Linked DNA regions of Homo sapiens: region 1 is linked to region 2. The links are contacts of gene promoters, found by promoter capture Hi-C in human tissues and cell types (Jung and others, 2019). All regions are on one chromosome and are shown on one strand. The core of a region is centred on a gene start or on the middle of the fragment in contact, and the rest is flanking DNA. Distances in the headings are between cores, read along the strand shown. Region 1 has its middle 33 kb from the start of SNRPE. Region 2 holds the start of REN (renin).

What was found. Contacts are between HindIII fragments. The study calls those that stand out against the background at their distance.
Region 1: a fragment that was not itself captured here is called in contact with the fragment with the promoter of REN in region 2 in 1 of the 25 tissues and cell types used here (neural progenitor cells).

What each region holds. Positions count from the first base shown.
Region 1 is chr1:203,891,415-203,896,915 of GRCh38, forward strand. No RefSeq gene overlaps it. Among named protein-coding and RNA genes, the nearest start is that of SNRPE, 33 kb to the left of the region's middle. The HindIII fragment of the contact is 3,154 bases long and covers 21-3,174 here.
Region 2 is chr1:204,163,993-204,169,772 of GRCh38, forward strand. REN (renin) reads right to left here and starts at 2,345. Exons shown (of 10, transcript NM_000537.4): 1 at 2,204-2,345. The coding sequence starts at 2,301. RefSeq lists a silencer at 1-2,201, promoters at 2,330-5,780, 2,342-2,493, 2,494-2,928 and cis regulatory regions at 2,405-2,427, 2,412-2,719, 2,589-2,604, 5,165-5,780. The HindIII fragment of the contact is 7,868 bases long and covers 1-5,681 here.

The DNA of each region.
Region 1 (5,501 bases), core at 348-2,847, 270 kb before region 2:
AAACAATAAATAAATAAAACATTGCAAACACAGACAACTCACTGTCTAAAGGAAGATCTGAGTTACTGAGACTAGAGTTTTCAATGTTTAGGTTGTAGAAAGGAGAACAAGGAATGCCAATGCAGGTCGACTGGTTATAGGTAAAGGGTGGGCATTGTCAGGGTTTACTGCTTAAAAGTAACTAGTGTCCCATTTAAAGTATGGGCTGACTACACAGTTATTACTGCATGACCCTGCTTTTTGTCTTCAGTGTGTAATACAAGAAGTAGTGAAACCCCATCTCTACTAAAAATACAAAATTAGCCCAGCTTGGTGGCACGTGCCTGTAATCCCAGCTACTTGGGAGGCTGAGGCAGGAGAGTCGCTTGAACCCAGGAGGTGGAGGTTGTGGTGAGCCGACATCACGCCATTGCACTCCAGCCTGGGCAACAAGAGCGAAACTCCGTCTGGAAAAAAAGAAAAAAAAAGTAAACATGAGGCTAGACATGGTGCCACATGCCTATAATCCCAGCACTTTGGAAGGCTGAGGTGGGTGGATGGAGCCCAGGAGTTCAAGACCAGCCTGGGCAATATGGCAAAAGCCTGTCTCTACAAAAAATACAAAAATTAGCCAGATGTGGTGGTGCATGCCTGTATTCCCAGCTACTCGGGAAGCTGAGGTGGGAGGATCACTTCAGCCTGGAAGGTCAAGGCTGCTGTGAGCCAAGATTGTACCACTGCACTCCTGCGTGGGGGACAGAGTGAGATCCTGTCTCAAAAAAAAAAAAAAAAACTTAAAAAGACAAAAAGGTAAACATGATGGTTGAGGAACAAGAAAAGGACAAAATTGATGAGCAAAGTGATTAAATACTAAAATGAAAGGAACAGAAGGGTAGAATTAACAGAAAGCCAACTCAAGAAAATTCAAAAGAAAAAGAAAAAACAAGAATTCTAAGTGTCGGATCCATGAGCCCTTCATACCAGATACAGGAGCCAATGAACCTACCTGAAATTACATTTAAAATAACAAGGAATGTTCATTTATGAGGGGAATGTGGTCAGTAGCTTTCATTAAATTCATAGAGGAGTTCATGTCTTTCCTCCACAACAGGCTTGTAATCATAGCTGCAACAAATAAAACAGTAGGCTTCTAGTCAAAATGGAGTAAGAGGGATCAGATTTAACAGAAACAAGTAAAAATCTGGGGCTGGGTGCAGTGGCTCGTGCCTGTAATCCCAGCACTTTGGGAGGCTAAGGCGGGTGGATCACCTGAAGTCAGGAGTTCAAGACCGGCCTGACCAACATGGAGAAACCCCGTCTCTACTAAAAATACAAAATTAGCTGGGCAAGGTGGCGCATGCCTGTAATCCCAGCTACTCAGGAGGCTGAGGCAAGAGAATCACTTGAACCCGGGAGGCGGAGGTTGTGGTGAGCCGAGATCGCACCATTGCACTCCAGTCTAGGTGACAAGAGTGAAGCTCCGTCTCAAAAAAAAAAAAAATTGAATAAGAAATATGAAACAATTAAATTTCAGACAGTAGGACACCAGGCATTCCAGGACGGTGGTTGTTCTCTCAGGTAACCATATGAAGTGAGCCTTACAATTCATCAAACTTAACATCTAAGGAGATTTTCTCAAGCCTCAGTACAGTGGGTAGGAACCTGGGTGGAACACAGGGGAGTCTCCCTGAGTTGAGATGGGATTGGGAATCTACAGCAACCCAAGGAAATAAAGTTTTCAGGGAAGAGTTCTGGAGAGGAGAGAACTGGAGATGTGCAGAGTTTCCGCCTCAAGTCTTCAGAGGGTTGACCAGCACATACATGTGAGGTAACAACCCAGGCAAGGGAAGTAAACATCAAAAAGAAGCAGAATAAACACTTCTTTTCATGCATTTTGCAAAGGACTGGGAAAAGATTTTATTCCTGCCAGCTACAGAGGAAAGACCTCATACCTCAAAAGGGGTCAGATAGAATATTTAAAGGGACATTGCAGGCCGGGTACGGTGGTTCACACCTGTAATCCTAGCACTTTGGGAGGCCAAGGCATGCAGATCACTTGAGCCTGGGAGTTGGAGACCAGCCTGGGCAACATGGTGAAATCCTTTCTCTACAAAAAAATACAAAAATTAGCCAGGTGTGGTGGCATGCACCTGTAGTCACAGCTACTCAGGAGGCTGAGGTGGAAGGATCACCTGAACTCAGGGAAGTCAAGGCTGCAATGATCTGTGATTGTGCCACTGTACTCCAGCCTGGGCAACAGAGTGAGACCCTGTCTGAAAAATAAATAGAAGAACATTGCATTAATAGTGGAAGAAAATTAGTCCTAGACTAAGCTTGCTTTGGTGTTACCTAACAAAGCTTAAATGTGAGTTTTGAGAGAAACTGGGACGAAGCTTAAGAATATTATTATATTATGCAAAAATATCTGGCACCCAACAAGGTGAAATTCAATGTCTGGTATCCAGTTGAAAATTATCAATCATGCAATAAAGCAGAAAAATGCAACCACAATGAGAAAAATACAAACACCTGGAAATGACACATGATAGAATTAATTGACAAGGATATTGAAACTAGTTAAAAGTATATTCTGTATGTTCAAGAAAGTAGAGGAATGCTTGAAACATTGAAAGATTGAAAAGACTGGCATCAGGCTGGGTGCGGTGGCACATGCCTGTAATCCCAGCACTTTGGGAGGCTGAGGCAAGTGGATCACTTGAGGTCAGGAGTTTGAGACCAGCCTTGCCAACATGGTGAAACCCCATCTCTACTAAAAATACAAAAGTTAGGTATGGTGTAGGGGTCGGGGCAGGGGGGCACCTGTAATCCCAGCTACTCGGGAGGCTGAGGCATGAGAATTGCTTGAACCCAGGAGACAGAGGTTGCAGTGAGCCAAGATTGTGCCACTGCACTCCAGCCTGGGTGACACAGTGAGACTTCATTTCAAAAAAAAAAAAGACCAGTATCAAATTTCTGAAAATGCAAACTTTAGTGTGTGATATGAAAAACACACTTGTTAGAATCAACAGCACATTAGAGAGTGTGGAATAAAAGATTAGTAAACTTGAACACATAGCACAGAAGTTATTCAAAATTAAAGAAAAAAGGCTGAAGAAAATGAATAGCATATCAGTAAACTGTGGGAGAACCTCTAGCAGTCTAATTTGTGTGTAATTGGAGTCTCCAAAGGAGAGGGGAGGAGAGAAAAAGGATTTGAAAAAATAATGGCTGAAAAATGTTCAAATTTGATGAAAACTATAAGCCCTTAACAGGTCTAATGGACCTCAAGCACAAGGAAGACAAGGAAAATAATATCATGACACATAACACTTGAAAAATTGTTCAAACCAGAAATTGAGAGGAAATATTAAAGGCAGTAGGAACTAGACATGTTACAGATAGAGAAACCAAAGGATGACAGCATATTTCTCATCAGATACAATGCAGGTGTGAAAACAATGGAGTTACATCTTTAAAGTACTGAAACAAACAAAAAATCAACCTTGAATTCTATACCCAGCCAAAATATCTCTTGAAAACAAAGGTGAGCCAGGTATGGTGGCTCATGCCTGTAATCCCAGCACTTTGGGAGGCTGAGGTGGGCAGATCACAAGGTCAGGAGTTTGAGACCAGCCTGATCAATATGGTGAAACCCTGTCTCTACTAAAAATATAAAAACTTAGCCGGGCATGGTGGCGCATGCCTGTAATCCCAGCTACTCAGGAGGCTGAGGCAGGGGAATTGCTTGAACCTGGAGGCAGAGGTTGCAGTGAGCTGAGATCGCACCACTGCACTCTAGCCTGGGTGACAGAGTGAGACTCCATCTCAAAAAAAAAAAGAAAAGAAAGGTGAAATAAAGACTATTTCAGAAATACAAAAGCTGAAAGAATTCATCACCAGCAGACTTATACTATAAGAAGTATTAAGTCCTTCAGGGACAAGGAAAAAGGTACCAGATAGAAGTCTGGATCTACAAAAAAAAATGAAGAACAAGAAGCTTTTTTTTTTTTTTTTTTTTTTTTTTTGGTAAAACAGTTACTGCTTAAAGGAAAAAGTACTACAATTAATCATGGGATTTCTTTTACATATATATATAGAGAGAGAAGTAAAATACATGACCACAATAGAATAAGGCCAAGATGGGGGAAGTGAAATCATACTGCTGTAAGATTTTTTTTTTTTTTTTTGGAGAGATGGGGTCTTACCATGTTGCCCAGGCTACTCTCAAGCTCCTGGCCTCAAGAAAGCCTCCCACATCAGCCTCTCAAAGTGCTGGAATTTCAGACATGAGTTACTGCACCTGGCATGCTGTAAGATTTTCACCTTGTACATGATAAATCCTGAAGTAATCACAAGAAAAATAGAAAAGCTAATAAGTCAACCAAGGAGATTTAATGGAGTCATTAAAAATTCTTAGTCTAAGCCAGGTGCGGTGGCTCATGCCTATAATTCCAGCACTTTTGGAAGCCGAGGTGGGTGGATCATCTGAGGTCAGGAGTTTGAGACCAGCCTGGCCAACATGATGAAACCCCATCTCTACTAAAAATACAAAAAATAGCTGGGTATGGTGGCACACGCCTGTAATCCCAGCTACTCGGGAGGCTGAGGCAGGAGAATTGCTTGAACCCAGGAGACAGAGGTTGCAGTGAGCCAAGATTGTGCCACTGCACTCCAGCCTGGGTGACAGAGTGAGACTCTCCAAAACACACACACACACACACACACACACACACACAGTCTCTTCAATCTAAAAGACTGAAAAGAAGGCAAGGAAAAAGGAAAAAAAGCTGGGACAAACAAGACAAACAGCAAGGTGGTACATTTAAAACCGACCTTTTCAATAGTTATACTCAGAATTGTCCCAACACCCCAATTAGCATCACAGACCCTACCGCATGCTGCTTGCAAGACAACCACTCTAAATATAAAGACAATCGGTTAAATGCAAATGGATATTAAATGATATGCCTGTAATAAAAAGAAATCTGATGAAACTATATTAGTATCAGACAAAGTAGATCTCAGAACATAGCATATTGCCAGGGAAAAGGGGATATTTTATGAGATCATAGGGTCAATTCAATAAGAAGTCATAACAATTCTACATGTTCATTTGCCTAAATGACAGCTTCAAAATACATAAAGAAAAACCTGATGGAACTGTGAGGAAAAACAGTTTTCACAATTACAGTCAGATTTTAGCACCTCTCAATAATTGCTAAGTAGAAAATTAATAAGAATGTAAAAGACTTGAACCACATTATCAACCAACTTGATGTAACAGATATTTACAGAGTACCTAGCAGCAAAAATAAATTATATTAAAAATGCGGGTGCAGCACACCAGCATGGCACATGTATACATATGTAACTAACCGGCACATTGTGCACATGTACCCTAAAACTTAAAGTATAATAATAATAAAAAAAATTATATTAAAAATGCTTCTTAAAATAGGGGATTTGATAAACATTTTTAAAAATAAAAACTATACAGCACTCAGCATCAACAGAAAACTTTT
Region 2 (5,780 bases), core at 1,095-3,594:
GAGCTCATTCATTCAGCTGTCCCAAGTGCCTCGCATGATGCTCTGCACATAGCGGGTAGCAAAATTCCTATAATACTGTTTCAAAAGCTGGATTCCCCCTCCACCCCTTGCCCAATTCCATTCTTTTTCTCTTTTGGATAACAGCAGGGGAAGATGTTTTTACTTTCCTCTACCTTTATCCTGGAGTGCAGCTGCTTTGAAGCACCCATCCTCTTACCCAGTGCTCACAACCCAGCAATTACTCTCCGAGAGCCTCAGAGCAAGGGAAAGCAGTTTCGGAAGCAAAAGGCCCAGTGTGTGTTGAGGCTTAGCCTCTTACATATCACCTCCCTGAGCCTCAGTGTCCTCATCTGCAAAGTGGGAATGCTGAGTTGTTGGGGGCATGACTTGAGATGAGACATGTGAAAAGATCCTGTGACACCCTAAGCATTTTATAGGCTTAGCAACTATTACCATTATTAAAGTGTGCCTCCCTACCTTCAGGACTGCTGGTCATATCTGCTGTCCCCAGATTGAAAACCCCTTTCTCTGTGAGGCCTTTTCTCAAATGCTGTCTCTTCCCCTTCTTCAGTCTTTTTTTTTTTTTTTTTTTTTTTTACATAAGGTCTGGCTCTATCACCCAGGCTAGAGCACAGTGGGTCAGTCTCTGCTCACTGCAGCCTCCACCTCCCAGGCTGAAGTGATGCTCCCACCTCAGCCTCCCGAGTAGCTGGGACTACAGATTTGCACCACCACACCTAGCTAATTTTTGTATTTGTACAGACAAGGTTTCACCATGTTGCCTAGGCTGGTCTTGAACTCGTGAGCTCAAGCGATCTGCCCACCTCAGCCTCTCAAAGTGCTGGAATTACAAGCATGAGCCGCGTGCCCAGCTTCCTTCTACAGTCTTAATGAATCACTTGTTCCCACAAGGCCTGGCACCTAGGGGATGCTAAGGTTTTCTCCTTCTAATTGTGGGCTACCTAAAGCCTTGTTTTTTTCTTTCTTTTTTTTTTTTAGACTGAGTTTTGCTCTTGTTGACCAGGCTGGAGTGCAATGGCGCTATGTCGGCTCACTGCAACCTCAGCCTCCCAGGTTCAAGCGATTCTCCTGCCTCAGCCTCCCAAGTAGCTGGAATTACAGGCATGTGCCACCACGCCCGGCTAATTTTGTATTTTTAGTAGAGACAGGGTTTCTCCATGTTGGTCAGGCTGGTCTTGAACTCCTGACCTCGGGTGATCTGCCCCCCTCGGCCTCCCAAAGTGTTGGGATTATAGGCGTGAGCCACTGCTCCCGGCCAAACCTTGCTTTTGATATTTGTAAGAATCTATCCTGTAGTACTAACAGTAGCTGGGCTCTTACAACGTGCCCAGCTTTCTATGCCTTATCTCCTAAAATCCCCAAAGCAGCCCCATCAAGTAGGTACTGTTATTATCATACCTGTTTAAAATGATAAACTGAGACTTGGAGAGGTTAAATAACTTGCCCATGATTCCAGACCTAGTTTGTTCTGCTAGTGAAGCAAAATTTAAATGAAGGCAATCTAACTCTATAAGCCTTGCATTTAACCACGATATCAAGCTGCTTCCCTGGTACAGTTAACTGTACCCATGCCCCGACCCCCGTCTTTTTTTTTTTTGAGATGGAGTCTTGTTCTGTCACTCAGGCTGGAGTGCAGTGGCACGATCTTGGCTCAGCAATCTCCACCTTCCGGGCTCAAACGATTCTCCTGCCTCAGCTTCCCGAGTAGCTGGGGATTACAAGTGCCTGCCACCATGCCCGGCTAATTTTTGTATTTTTAGTAGAGATGGGGTTTCCCCATGTTGGCCAGGCTGGTCTCAAACTCCTGACCTCAAGTGATCCGTCTCAGCCTCCCAAAGTGCTGGGATTACAGGCAGGAGCCACCGCGCCCAACCACCCATGCCCTTCTTAATATTCAGGCTGTGAGCTCCTCAAGTGCAAGGGGCATGTCCTAATACTTCTGAGTTCTCTACAGTGCTTAGTTAGCATGGTGCTCTGGGCAGGAAGCAAAAGTCACAGCTTCTAGACCTGACTACTAGTGTCATTTATTGGGCAAGTCACTTGACCTCTCTGAACAGGTCCATACTTCCCTGTCCAGCTGATCGTAAGGACTGAATGACACCGCATGTGGAAAAGCCAGGGTGTTGGGAAGGTGGGAACCCTGCACCCCTCCCACCCCTTCTCTGCCTGAGTTACCAATTACCGTTTAAAGGTGGTGGTGTCTGTCGGGAGACCAAAGGTACAGGAGCCCCAGAGCAGCAGCAGCAGTCCCCAGCGAGGCATCCTTCTCCATCCATCCATGCTTCCCTCAGTCTGGGGCTCTCTCTGAGATCCACTGAGGTTCTGTGGCTCCCTTAGCCCTTCCCCTTTTATACACTCCATGCATGGGGTGATTGCAATTCTGCTCTGCCCTGATTTATTACCCTGGGGTAGATGGCAGGGCAGTCAGCAATAAATCTCACTGCGGGACAGAGCTAGGTGGGTGAAGGGTACCCAGGTTTCCGGATGGGGAGCAGAGGGGCTGGAGGAAGGACAGCTGTGGGAAAGCAATCTTGTGTCCAGTGACGCTAGCAGCCCTCTATCTGGCTTGGCCCTGTGACCCCTGGAGCAGGCAGAGGCTGATGAGAAACAGCACTGCTCAGGGCTAACATCAAAACTGGGACAAGCGTAAAACCTAGGTTTCCAGCTCCCTAGCCCAGACCCAACCCCTATACCCTGGAAGCTCCATTCTCTATATTAACTTTGGCTTTGTCCCTGACTGGCCTCTCCCAGGCTACAGCCCAGTTTTCCCATCTAGAACATGGGTGAATCTTCATGACTGGTTTCTTGGCAGGAAAAGCAACAGCTGGTTTAATTATAAGAGTAGAGGGGCCAGGCATGGTGGCTCACACCTGTCCCAGCACTTTGGGAGGCCAAGGTGGGTAGATCACCTGAGGTCAGGAGTTCCAGACCAGCCTGACCAACAATGGTGAAACCCCATCTCCACTAAACTACAAAAATTAGCTGGGTGTGGTGATGGACACCTGTAATCTCAGCTACTCAGGAGGCTGAGGCAAGAGAATTGCTTGAACCCAGGAGGCGGAGGTTGCAGTGAGCTGAGATCATGCCACTGCACTCCGGCCTGGGCAATAAGAGTGAAATTCCATCTCAAAAAAGAAAGAGAGTGGAGGGAGACTTAGCATGACTGACTCCATTTTGCCTCTGACCCCCAGGGGTATTATCCTTTAGGCTAAAAGCTTCTGCTTAGCTCTGTACATAGACCAGCTAATTATAGGAGTTTAGCTTGCAGTTCAACTTTAAAAAAAATGGTAACAGTTCCTTTCCCCAAACTAACCCCCAAGGAGATAAGGAAATATACAGACAAATAACAATGTTATGTTAAAGATGTATAGGAACATTGTGACCTGACCTAGAAAAAAGAAGTTTTACAACGTCCTCAGACCCTTGCTGGCACCCAGGTGTCTGTGGTCATCAGTCACCTCTTGATCCCAATCCCCTTCTTCTTCCCCTTCCCTTAACATAAAGAAGAGCCTAACGTTCATGCTGACTTCAGATGGTTCTTTATGATGCTGGTCCACCATCTTCTTGGTTTTCTGGTTCTCTGAATAAGGTAGCTTTCCTTGCCACAATACCTTGTCTCTAGACTTATTGGCTGTTGTGTGGCAAGTGATACGAGCTTGGACTCAGCTACTCATAGCCTTGAACAGTCTTTCTGTGTCTGATTACATTCAAGTATTGTTTTCATCAGGTTTGACTTACAGGTTATCTAAATGGGCTTCCCATAAGAAGAAGCAATCACACTACAGAAAGTTTTTCTTTGCGTTTTTGGTAGCTGGCCTAAGAAACAATTATTTTAGGCTGGGAAACAGTGGCTCATGCCTGTAATCCTAGTGCTTTGGGAGGATGAGGTAGGAGGCTCACGCTCACTTGAAGCTCGTTCAAGACCAGCCAGGGCAATATAGCAAGACCCCATCTCTGAAAAAAATTAGCTGGGTGTGGTGGTGCGTGCCTGTAGTCTTAGCTACTGGGGAGGCTGAGGCGGGAGGATCACTTGAGTCCAGGAGTTCAAGGCTGTAGTGAGCTATGATTGTGCCACTGCACTTTAGCCTGGATGACAGAGTGAGACCCTGTCTCAAAAAATAAAAGGAAAGATTTTACATTTTCTCAAGATAATTCCTCATTCTTGTTATCTTTATCAGGTTTTTGATTACTTAGGAAAACTGAGCTTTAGAAAGGTTAAGTCTTTATATTCATGTAACTTTCTGTATTGCTATTAAAGTCTTTTAATTATCACTTTTGTGAAATGAATAATTATTATTTTACAAAGACCGGCGGTTCTGTTTTGATCAAATGGTTTGAGGCTTTAACATTTTGACAAATGTCCTCAAAATCTAATCCTAAATTAAGTTTGAAATGTTGCTAATTCTTTATGTTTTGTTTTCCAGAGTCAAGAAAGCCTTTTTTTTTTTTCTGAGACGGAGTCTTGCTCTGTCACCCAGGCTGGAGTGCAGCGGCGCAATCTCGGCTCACTGCAAGCTCCACCTCCTGGGTTCACACCATTCTCCTGTCTCAGCCTCCCAAGTAGCTGGGACTACAGGCACGTGCCACCACGCCCAGCTAATTTTTTGTATTTTTAGTAGAGACGGGATTCCACCATGTTAGCAAAGATGGTCTTGATCTCCTGACCTCATGATCTGCCTGCCTCAGCCTCCCAAAGTGCTGGGATTACAGGCGTGAGCCACTGCGCCTGGCCCGCCTTTTTTCTTTTTGAGCTATTTATAGCTTATAGAAATTGGGTTTACCTTTCTCTCTGTACCTAATATCTCCAGGATTTAAAAAACTATTAAATCCCTCTGGGCCCAAGGACGCTCATGGAAGAGGTGGGCACAAAACACCTTTTGATGTACTAATTTTACTTTTAAGGAGTAAAATTAGTTCAGATCCTCCAAATATAGGTACACAGATGCCTAAACAGCTGATGGCTCAACACATAGAACTTATAGAAAGGTCAGTTTTGTACCTTTGCTATTTGGCTTTTGGTTTTGGCTCTTATGTTACTTAAAAGGTTTTAAGGGTTAATGAATGCTTGGCCACCTCCCTTACCAAATGGCCTAAAACGTTTAATTGACTACAAGTCTTTTGGCTTTGAGTTCCTTAGCCACAGGGATCCTACCAAGGGATGTGATGGACCTGGGGCACATAGCCACAACACCCCCAGCAACAATATGGAACAAAATAAAAGTTTGGCCATTTATGCTGCCTTTGGTATATCTTGGCCAAATGGGAGAATGTCAACTAAAAATAAAATATTAAGCCCCCTGCTGACTGAATGGACCCCCTCTTGGCTAAGGGGACCCCAGAAAAACCTTAAAAACTTAGTCTTCAGGTATAATGTGATGGGAAGTCAGATACGCCTCATTATACCCTCTCCCTTTTGTGGTTTAGATACAATAACTAATCAACACTAATGTTAAAATAGAGGTCATAAGACTGACATAACTGAAATTTTGTGGCAATAAAATACCATATTATAAACAGGACCTAAGGCCATGCCAGGCAAGAGTTAAGTCATGCATCCTTACACTTAAAGAATAAGCTATATTCTCAATGACACAAGGTTTCTCTTTTTCTCTAGCAGCTAAGCAAGCACTGGCCTTAAGACAAGCAATATTAAAACAATTTCAACTCATCCAGTTCATAGATGCTGACTAACTGAACCCCAGTTCCACCAGCCATAACTATAGCTTTGATTGAACAAAAGACTGATTTCACTAATTTTC